Regions from separate parts of the Homo sapiens genome. Here region 2 is linked to region 1. Evidence: promoter capture Hi-C in human tissues and cell types (Jung and others, 2019). All regions are on one chromosome and are shown on one strand. The core of a region is centred on a gene start or on the middle of the fragment in contact, and the rest is flanking DNA. Distances in the headings are between cores, read along the strand shown. Region 1 holds the start of NPAS1 (neuronal PAS domain protein 1). Region 2 overlaps ARHGAP35 (Rho GTPase activating protein 35).

Region 1 (5,066 bases), core at 1,053-3,552:
TGGGAAGTGGAGGTTGCAGTGAGCCGAGATCCTGCCACTGCACTCCAGCCTGGGTGAGAAAGCGAGACTCCATCTCAAAAAAAAAAAAAAAATCCGTGTGTATGTGCAATCATAAATAAATACAGGCCAGGCTGGGCGACCTGGCTCACGCCATAATCCCAGCACATTGGGAGGCTGAGGCAGGAGGATTGCTTGAAGCCAGGAGTTCAAGACCAGCCTGGGCAACATAGCAAGACCCTCTCTCTACAAAACTTTTTTTTTTTTTTTGAGACGGAGTCTCGCTCTGTCTGCCAGGCTGGAGTATAGTGGCGTGATCTCAGCTCACTGCAACCTCCGCCTCCCAGGTTCAAGCGATTCTCCAGCCTCAGCCTCCTGAGTAGCTGGGACTACAGGTGCACGCCACTGTGTCCAGCTAATTTTTGTATTTTTAGTAGAGATGGGGTTTCACCATGTTGGCCAGGCTGGTCTTGAACTCCTGACGTCAGGTGATCCACCCGCCTCAGCCTCCCAAAGTGCTGGGATTACAGGCATGAGCCACTGCGCCCGGCCAACAAAACATTTTTAAAAAATAGCTGGGTGGGGTGGTGCATACCTGTAGTCCCAGCCACTTAGGAGGCTAGGTGGGAGAATCTCTTGAGCCTGGGAGTTCAAGGCTGCAGTGAGTAGTGATCATGCAGCCTGGGTGACAGAGCGAGAAGACTGTGTCTCAAAAATAATTAATTAATTAATTAATGGCACAAGTGTACCTCTCATGGCTGGCATAGCACCTGCCCAGGCTGCACAGCCAGGAAGTGCTGTCAGGAGACAGGAGCCCATGATCTGAGCTTGATTCCTTGCCCTGAAACTCTAGCAAGTCTCTCTGGGGATAAATAAGGATCTGTTGTCTGAGAGGCCACTATCACCAGGCTATATCACTTCCCCATGTCTCGGTTTCCCTAGTTGTAAAATGCATCTAGTAACAGAGCCCATCTCAGAATCTTGCTATAAAATAAAGTATTAGCAAAAAACAAGCACTCCCTTAAGTGTTAACTATGAGGATCATGAATGAGTTTGTGTGTTGTGAGCAAATGCACACGGGTGTTTGTGTGTGCCTCAGTTTCCCCATCTGCCCAACCAAAGGCCAGCGCGTGCTCCCTGCAAGCCCCTGACTGTATGCCTCTTCTAAGACTCCCTGCTCCATTTTCTTTTTCTTTTCTTTTCTTTCGAAATGGACTCTCCTTCTCTGACCCGGGCTGGAGCGCAGTGGCGGGATCTCGGCTCACTGCAACCTCCGCCTCCCAGGTTCAAGGGATTTTCCTGCCTCAGCCTCCCGAGTAGCTGGGATTACAGGCGCCCACCACCACACCCGGCTAATTTTTGTATTTTTAGTAGAGACAGGGTTTCACTATGTTGGCCAGGCTGGCCTTGAACTCCTGACCTCGGGTGATCCAACCGCCCTGGCCTCCCAAGGTGCTGGGATTATAGGTGTAAGCCACCGCGCCCGGCCCCAGCTCCATTTTCTTTCCCCATGTTAAGGTCATGTAGAGGCTTTTAAGTGCCTGGAGACCCCCATGCCAGGGAGGACCCTGAGAACGGGAAGTGGGGGCTGCATGGAGAGAAGGAGCTAGGGGAACTGTAGGACCTCCTATCAGACTGGGGAAGGCCTGGCTTGGACGCCTGGGTTCCCGTCCTCTGTGCGAGGTACTACAACCCCTGAGTTCCCATTTATGATCTAATGGGGAGCTTGGATGTAAGGGTTCCCGTCCCTGCGGCGGGGGATGGAGATAAGACGCCAGGATCCTGGTCTCTGGAGCTCCTTAGAGAGCTGGATCCTGGTCCCTGACGAGGGAGGTGTATGTCCCCCTTTTAAGGCGGGTTGGGTTTGGATGCGAAGTCCCAGCCCTGTGGGGGGAGAGTGTGCTGACACTCAGGAGTTCTCTCCCGGAAAGGGAGGGTCTCGAATTCTGGATTTGTGTCCCTGGAGGAAGCACTGACGTGAGTCTTCACTCGTACATGGGGCTCGGCTGCAGGGTACCTGTCTTGTCCCGAGGGGCTGCTGGGGCACTAACTGCCTCCTGAAGGGGTGTAGACAGTGCCCGGACTCCGCTGTTCCCCTTTTGGAGTGGGGTAGCTCCGATCCGAGGTGCTACATTCTGACCCCCGACGTTACCGTGGGGCAAGGGAACTCGGACCCCAGGGTAGCTTGGCCCCCTACCAGGGAAAGGCGAGCAGGGCGGGTCCGGGGGCGGAGACGCGGCGGGCGGGGCTCCGGCAGACCCCGCCCCCGCCCGCAGCGCTGGTCGCGCGTCTCCAAGTCTGCGAGGCCGAGGTGGGCGCCGAGAGCTGGGCGCCACAGCCCGCGCGTCCCGCTGCGCCCCGCGCGCCCCGGGGTCTATGGAGCTGCCCCTCCGCGCCGCCCGGCCGGCCCCACGCCGCGCCCGGAGCCTGCTCTGCGGCCAAGTAATCGGACTGGCGGTCCTGCGGGTAGGGGAAGCTTGCGGGCTGGCAGGAGGGGGACTTCTGGGTCCCAGAGGAATGGGGGGCTGGAACTCCAGTGTCCTGGGGGATAGGGGGTGGGACGAGGGTATCCCGAGCCTGGGGGAAGGGGCGCACGGATGTTTGAGTCCTGGAGAAATCTGGGGTTGGGAGACCTGGACACGGGGGTCTGGGGCATCTGGACACCTGGCTGGGAGGTTTGGGGGCGGCCTGGTTCCTGGGGTTAGGGGGTGTTCTGAACGCCTGGTCCTGGAGGAATGAAGACCTAACTGAAAACGTTAGGGGATCAGGAGACCAGGACACCTGGGCCCCGAGTGTCGGGTCAATCCTGGGGGCGTCCTGGGGCAGAGGCTGCGGCGGCTGCGTCCGGGGCTGGGGCTCGCGCGCCGGGGTCTTCAGGGAGGAAGTTGTGGTCGTGGGGATGTGGCGGTCCGAACACGTGGCGCCATCCCGAGAGGCTGGGGGGATCCCTGGGCAGGACACAGGATGGGGGTCCCTGCCCTCTGCCCCCTGCCTCCTTAGCCCAGCCGGGAAAACAGGGTGCAGATCCGGGGAGTCAGACACCGGGGATGGGCTTGGGGGGCGGGTCCTCGGGGCAGAGGGCTCCGGGGGCTGGGGCGTGCGTGCCTGGCCCGGGAGGCGCCCGCCCCCCGCCCGGCTTGGGCATGCTTGGCACGCAGCGCGCGGGCCGGTTCGATCCGTATGCGCGCCGCGTGCGCCCATTGGTATGCGGGAGCCGGCCCGGCGCGGGCGTGAGGCGGGCGCGCTGGCGGGCGGCGCGGGGGAGGCGGCGGCGGGGCACGTCCTCACCCGGAGCGCCAGCCCCGGGCCGGCTAGGGTGGGAGCTGAGGCCTCCAGGTAGGGGAAACTGAGGCATCATCCAGGCCCCCCCCCCCCCAGCTCCTTGCTGGGACCCTGAGCCCTGCACGGATCTCAGTTTCCCTAGAAGGTCTCCCGAGGGCACTAAGCGTTGCCCCTGGCCCCCTCCCGCTGCAGGAGACTCGGGGCTCGGAGCCCGCCTGAGCGAGCCCCCCGGAGATGGCGGCCCCCTATCCCGGCAGTGGCGGCGGAAGCGAGGTCAAATGCGTGGGAGGCCGCGGCGCCAGCGTCCCCTGGGACTTTCTACCCGGGCTGATGGTCAAGGCGCCGTCCGGACCGTGGTGAGCAAAGCCCCGCCCCCCTGGCCGCGGGCCCCCCCCCGGGTCCAATTCACACCCGATGTTCTGTCCCCGTGCCAAGGGGCAGTTCACACCCAGCTCCCTGACCCGCCCCTTAGGGCTAGAAGGTCTTACCTTGAGTTAACTACCGTCCTGAGCCCGGTCCCCTGCGTTCTGCTTCTAGTCCCGGTCCTCAGAATTCACGCCCAACATCTTTAATCTCTCGCCCTTCCTCCTCCTTCCCACCAGAATTGACACTCGAGGTTCTGTCCCTGGGTCGGAGTGTAAAATCCACACTCCGGTCTGCTCCCACCTCCAGAGATGTGGAATCCACTCCCAACGTCCCGTCCCGTTCCCAAGGCCCCGGGAGGCGGGGCTCGCCCCCAGTTCCCAAGCCCCTGAGCCCCGGGGCCCCGCCGACACCTCCTCCGCGCCGCCCGCCCAGCCTGCAGGCGCAGCGCAAGGAGAAGTCCCGGAACGCGGCGCGCTCGCGGCGCGGGAAGGAGAACCTGGAGTTCTTCGAGCTGGCCAAGCTTCTCCCGCTGCCCGGCGCCATCTCCAGCCAGCTGGACAAGGCTTCCATCGTGCGCCTCAGCGTCACCTACCTCCGCCTGCGCCGGTTCGCCGCGCTGGGGGCGCCGCCCTGGGGGCTGAGAGCCGCGGGGCCGCCAGCTGGCCTCGGTGAGTGCTCATGCGCGGGGCGAGGGTCCCGGGGCCCTCCAGGCGGAGTCACTGCAGCCCAGATCCGGGCTGCGGGCCTGCCCTCGCCCAGATGCTTGTCTCTGGAGTCAGCCAGGACCTTTGCGTGTCCCTATCAGGTGGCTTCTGCTCTCCAAGCCTCAGTTTATTAAACTGTCAAATGGGCGCAAGAGGTTGGGAAGATTTCGTGAATTCTGCCCTAAACAAGGCCCTGGCAGTTCTAGTGGTCACTGGTAAATGCTATTCCTATATTTTTATTAGAGGAGAGGAATCATTATTACAACCAAAGAAACTCCCAGCTGCATGAGCGGGACAGAGGGGACTCACCCTGGCTTGGGACGCCCATTCGCTAATGGGCGAGATACCCTGGATCCAGACCTGAGGGGCCCCGGCGGGAACGCAAGGACTGTACAGTCTGAGCCCCCAGTTGGAGGAGCAAGAGGGAGACAGTATGATGTGGCGGATGAGATGGGGAACTTCAGGAAGATGCCCCAGGGTTCCTGTCGCCGCGCAGCCACCTCCCAGCTTTGCAACCCCGGGCAGGTCGCCTCACTTCTCTGTGCCTTAATGTGAAGTGGGAAAAAACGGTCCAACCTCCCCCAGGGGGCTGAGCAGAGAATCAACCAGGTCATATTTGCAAAGTCCCTGGAAGTGCCTAGCTCAGAGCAAGCCACCGCTATGCGGCCAATGCTGTTATCAGCAGTAACCTTGCAGGGCTGCTGGAGGGGTTCGGGG
Region 2 (5,066 bases), core at 1,298-3,797, 85 kb before region 1:
AATGGCATTTCCATGAGAAATATGCCCAGTAACCCTTCAGATGCCTGAAGTGTTGTTTCTATCAGCAGTCTGGCCCAGCTCTTGGCATGCACCCCAAACCCTGATTTTCTTACTAGGAAGGTTTAGAATTCATTTTGCAAGAGTTCCAATTTTGTGACACCCTAGAGAGCCTTCAGTTATCTCAAGGAGGTATTCTGAAATTCTGTAAACCAGAGTTTGTCTTAAAAAATAGGGAGTGAGATTGAATCCACGTCACTCAGCAAGGAGGTGGGGTGATGCTACTGCAAAAGCTTACCCTCCACATCCACTGTTGTAAATGGAAGGATTGAACTAAATCTGGGGCTCTTTGAGGTGAAAGAGATAGGAGCAGTTGTCTCAGTTAGCCTTCCGTCTCTCTTATCGCTCCCAATGTGACCCTTTGGAGCCATGTAAAAGAAGCCTGCTCTATAGTCAATAGGTAGCTCTATAGCTATTTGAAAATAGCTATCAGAGTGCCCCATTATTCTCTTTGCCAATTTAAAGTTCCCTGGTATTTTATATGAGTGGATCTTTATTACCTTTAGAAACCTTTGGAAGTCCTCCAGATAATCAGTGATCAGTGTGCCTTCTTTTTTTTTTTTTTTTTTTTTTCCGAGACAGGGTCTCCTGCTATCACCCAGGCTGGAGTGCAGTGGCACAATTTTGACTCACTGCAGCCTTCACCTCCCCAGCTCAAGCAATCCTCCCACTGCAGCCTCTCGAGTTGCTGGGACTACAGGCATGCATCACCACACCCAGATAATTTTTTTGTAATATTTTTTGTAGAGATGGGGTTTCACCACGTTGGCCAGGCTGGTCTCAAACTCTGGCCTCAAGTGATCTGCCAACCTCAGCCTCCCAAAGTGCTGGAATTACAGGCATGAGCCACCAAGCCCAGCTAGTGTGCTTTTATTCACTTACTCAGTCATCCATTTATTTATTCTCTCCATCTCAAGAATTTTCACTAGATTATAAGCCGTGGTGGTTAAAAGCACAGGTTTCGCAGTCATACAGACCTGACTTTGTCAAGTTACTTTTTCTAGGAGTTGGCCTCTATCAAATGGAGTTTTTAATACCCACACCCACAAATATTTTGAATCTGGAGTGCTTGTAAAGAATTTATACTGGCTGGGTGCGGTGGCTCATGCCTGTAATCCCAGCACTTTGGGAGTCCGAGGCAGGAGGGTCCCTTGAGCCCAGGAAGCTGTGGTTGTAGGGAGCTATGACTGCGCCACTGCACCGCAGTCTGGATGACAGAGCGAGACCCTATCTAAAAAAGAACTTATGCTAGGTTCTGGTACACAGAAACTACTCAGTTGATGAAGGCTAAATTTCCTGGCTAAGTTAGATTGTTAGAACACACCAGCATCATCTTGTTCCTAGTATTAAGAGGGTGGGGGAATGTAAGATTGAAATTTGTTGTCTGTTTCCTAGAACCATGGTTAGAAGGAGGCTTTAAGGTGATTAGGAATAGCTTCTTTGCAGCTTCCATTTCTGTTCCTTCACAGCGGTTTATTTGGAAGCCTGTTTTATTGAACAGTGCTGTTAGTTTCAACAGGCATATTCTGTAGGATTTGAGATTGTTAAAAACTTCAATGATAGAAGATGGATGAATGTGATTTAAGTACAGATGCTCTTTGGTTATTCAGATTGTATAGCTAACCTTTTAAACTCCAAATGTAAAACTTTTCGACTTTTAACCTTTTAAACTTTAAATTAAAAAAAAATAGGAAACATTTTAAGTGGGGAGAGCATTGTTTGAATCATTGTTATCTGGTTGCAACAATGTGTGAAACAGAGGCACTCAGCCCCTCTTCCCCACCCCGCCCCTCCTCCCGGAGACACAGTCTTGCTCTGTCGCCCAGGCTGGAGTGCAATGGCACAATCTCGGCTCACTGCAACCTCTACCTCCTGGGTTCAAGTGATTCTCCCACCTCAGCCTCCTGAGTAGCTGGGATTACAGGCACTTGCCATCATGCCCGGCTAATTTTTGTATTTTTGTAGAGACAGGGTTTCACTATGTTGGCCAGGCTGGTCTCGAACTCCTGATCTCAGGTGATCCGCCCGCCTTGCCCTCCCAAAGTGCTAGGATTACAGGTGTGAGCCACCATACCCGGCCAGCCCTCTTATTTATTATTTTGAGACGGGGTCGCACTTTGTCACCCAGGCTGGAGTGCAGTGGCACGATCTCAGCTCACTACAGCCTCGACCTCCTGGGCTCAGGCGATCCTCCCACCTCAGCTTCCCAGGTATCTGGGACTATAGGTGTGCGCTACCACGCCCAGCTAATTGTTTTTGTATTTTTTGTAGAGATGGGGTTTCACCATGTTGCCCAGGCTGGTCTTGAACTCCTGAGCTCAAGCAATTTGCCCACCTCAGCCTCCCATAGTGCTAGGATTACAGGCATTAGCCACCATGCCCAGCCTTAAATTCTTTATGTTATACTTCATATAAGTAGAAGATGCTAGAGACACAGTATAGACTCGTTAAATTATTTCCTGTAAATGTATATCATACATCGTTAATTGGCATTTCCTTACTTCTTTGGTAAAAAAAGTCTGAAGTCAGAGCCTGTTTGCTTCAGTCTATAAGGGGAGCAAGCAGCAGCCATTCCCCCGAACCTAGGAGGCTATGCCACTACTTTATGAGGAGCAGGTATCTCACAGTGAGTGGGGACAGGCTTTATGGAGTACATGGTTCTTCCCTGAGACCCCAGAATCCATTCACATTATAGCATTCTCCATATTGAGTCAGGTAGCAGGCTGAATGAAGATTGGATTCTCATTGCCTTTGGTTTGTCATTTGAAGTAATCTCACCCAGCAGCCCAGAAATGGAATGATCTTGCTCTTTCCTTGTGTACATTATATTCTGATCTGTTCTTTTTTTTTCTTGCTATTTGTTTGCACAGGAAGTTCTCAACGAATCTCAGACTAAACAGGAAGTGATTTTTTTCTTATACAAAGGGGTACTGGTAGGAACGAAGATGGGCAGGAGAAGGAGAGGGAATAGGTGGCCTGCGGCCTGGCGGTTCGTTGTTTCCTTCAGTGGATTTTATGTAAAATCCCTAAATACTTTAGGTTTATGGGCTGTGCACATTTCTGAGTAAATCTGCTTTTCTAAATTGGTTTCATCAACTGGAAAATGTAACTGGATTGCTGGAGATACACCTGGGTCTAATTTACCTTGATCCTATTTGGTTACTTTTCTTTTTTAGTAGATATTTTAACAAAAGGCCAAAATTTCAAGTGTATTTCTTTGGCTTTAGGAAATTTATCATTTGTTTAGAGTAATTTTTTCTCCATTTAAGGTTCAAAATAAAAAGATTGAATACTTTTGAGGCAGAGTATCTCAGTATTAATCATGTTAATGAGCATAGGCTTTGGAGACAAACCTTCCTGGATTTGAATCCAAGCAGTCACTTAGTAGTTGTGTCATTTAGGCATGTGAGAGATTTTTTCCTTGGTAAGATTGAGTGTCATCAGGTTTAAAAGAAATAATATTTGGCAGGCTGGGCAACATAGTGAGACCCTCATCTCTACAGAAAATTTAAAAATTAGCCTGGGTACATGCCTGTGGTCCCAGCTTTGGGATGCTGAGGTAGGAAGATCACTTGAGCCCAGGAGGTCCAGGCTGCAGTGAGCTGTGGTTGTGCCACTGTACTCCAGCCTGAGCAACACAGGGAGACCCTGTCTGAAAATTATAATAATAATAATAATATTTGGAACTTAGTCTGTGCATAGTAAGTTCTCAAGTGGTTGCTGTTGCTGCTGCTACTGCTGCTGCTAGTACTTCTTGAAGAAGGTGACTAGGGAAAAATAGACAAAAAAAATACTTTATTTGTCTTGTTTGATTAGTCGACTTTACCTTTTCCTAATGTGGATGCAACTGAGAATTAACCCCAAGCTAATGTATCAAAGGACATTCTCATTTGGGTCTATCAGCCCTAGCAGAATGCCTGCTCTCTTTTCTAGAAAGAGGAAATAATCTGTTTTCCATTTCATTTTTTTTAAAGATTTTAGCTATCTTTGAGTATGTAACATCTATTATCCTTGTAGGGTGTTTGGAAAACTTCCTGTTTACTCCAGTGCATCCCTGGTAGAGGATGTAGATAATCATCGTATTGTTATTTTATTACATAAACATGGACTGCTTCTTATAAACATCTTTGTTCTAATAATGTGGTCTCATACTCAAGGTGTGACTTTCTGGCATCCTGTGTGGTATTCAGAGGCCAGAAGATAGAAAATTAAAAGTAGTGAGATGAGCCAAGCGAATCTTTTTAATCCTTCTTGAAATCTTTTTTTTTTTTTTTTTTGAGTCTTACTCTGTCATCCAGGCTGGAATACAGTGGCGCAATCTCGGCTCACCTCAATCTCCACCTCCTGGGTTCAAGCAATTCTCCTGCCTCAGCCTCCCAAGTAGCTGGGATTACAGGCGCCCACCACTACGCCTGGCTAATTTTTGTGTTTTTAGTAGAGACACGGTTTCACCATGTTGGCCAAGCTGGTCTCAAACTCCTGACCTGAGGTGATCCACCCGCCTCGGCCTCCCAAAGTGCTGGGAATACAGGCATGAGTCACCGTATCCAGCCACTTCTTGACATTCTTTCTAGCAGTTTTTATACCACTGCTTCCCTTCTGGAAGCCTTACTGATGTTTAAGTTACATGTTGATACTCACTTTGTTTTTGTGCTTCCCTTTCTCTTTCCTGGACAGAAACCAAAGCCCAAACCCCGGCCATCCATCACAAAGGCAACCTGGGAGAGTAACTATTTTGGGGTGCCCTTAACAACTGTCGTGACTCCAGAGAAGCCGATCCCCATTTTTATTGAAAGATGTATTGAGTACATTGAAGCCACAGGTAAGAGTATTACCTCATAGCAGTTTATAACTTTCACTGTCTACAGGATGCTTACTGGAGGGTCAAGCCATCTGGAGATTCTGGAATCAGTTGTTGTTGATTGTGAGATGCTCTTGGAGAAGGAGCTGAGCAGTCCCAACAGTTGTCAGATGTGTAGATTCTCCATTTGTGTGCAGTTTTGAGGCTG

What was found. The method cuts DNA at HindIII sites, captures the fragments that hold promoters and counts their contacts. A contact is called where the count stands out against the background at its distance.
Region 2: a fragment that was not itself captured here is called in contact with the fragment with the promoter of NPAS1 in region 1 in 2 of the 25 tissues and cell types used here (IMR-90 fibroblasts and dorsolateral prefrontal cortex).

Annotation. Positions count from the first base shown.
Region 1 is chr19:47,017,535-47,022,600 of GRCh38, forward strand. NPAS1 (neuronal PAS domain protein 1) reads left to right here and starts at 2,303. Exons shown (of 12, transcript NM_002517.4): 1 at 2,303-2,463; 2 at 3,472-3,635; 3 at 4,078-4,313. The coding sequence starts at 3,514. RefSeq lists a silencer at 2,240-2,299. The HindIII fragment of the contact is 24,576 bases long and covers 1-3,319 here.
Region 2 is chr19:46,932,530-46,937,595 of GRCh38, forward strand. It overlaps ARHGAP35 (Rho GTPase activating protein 35), which reads left to right. Exons shown (of 7, transcript NM_004491.5): 3 at 4,735-4,879. Among named protein-coding and RNA genes, the nearest start is that of ARHGAP35, 74 kb to the left of the region's middle. The HindIII fragment of the contact is 9,795 bases long and covers 1-5,066 here.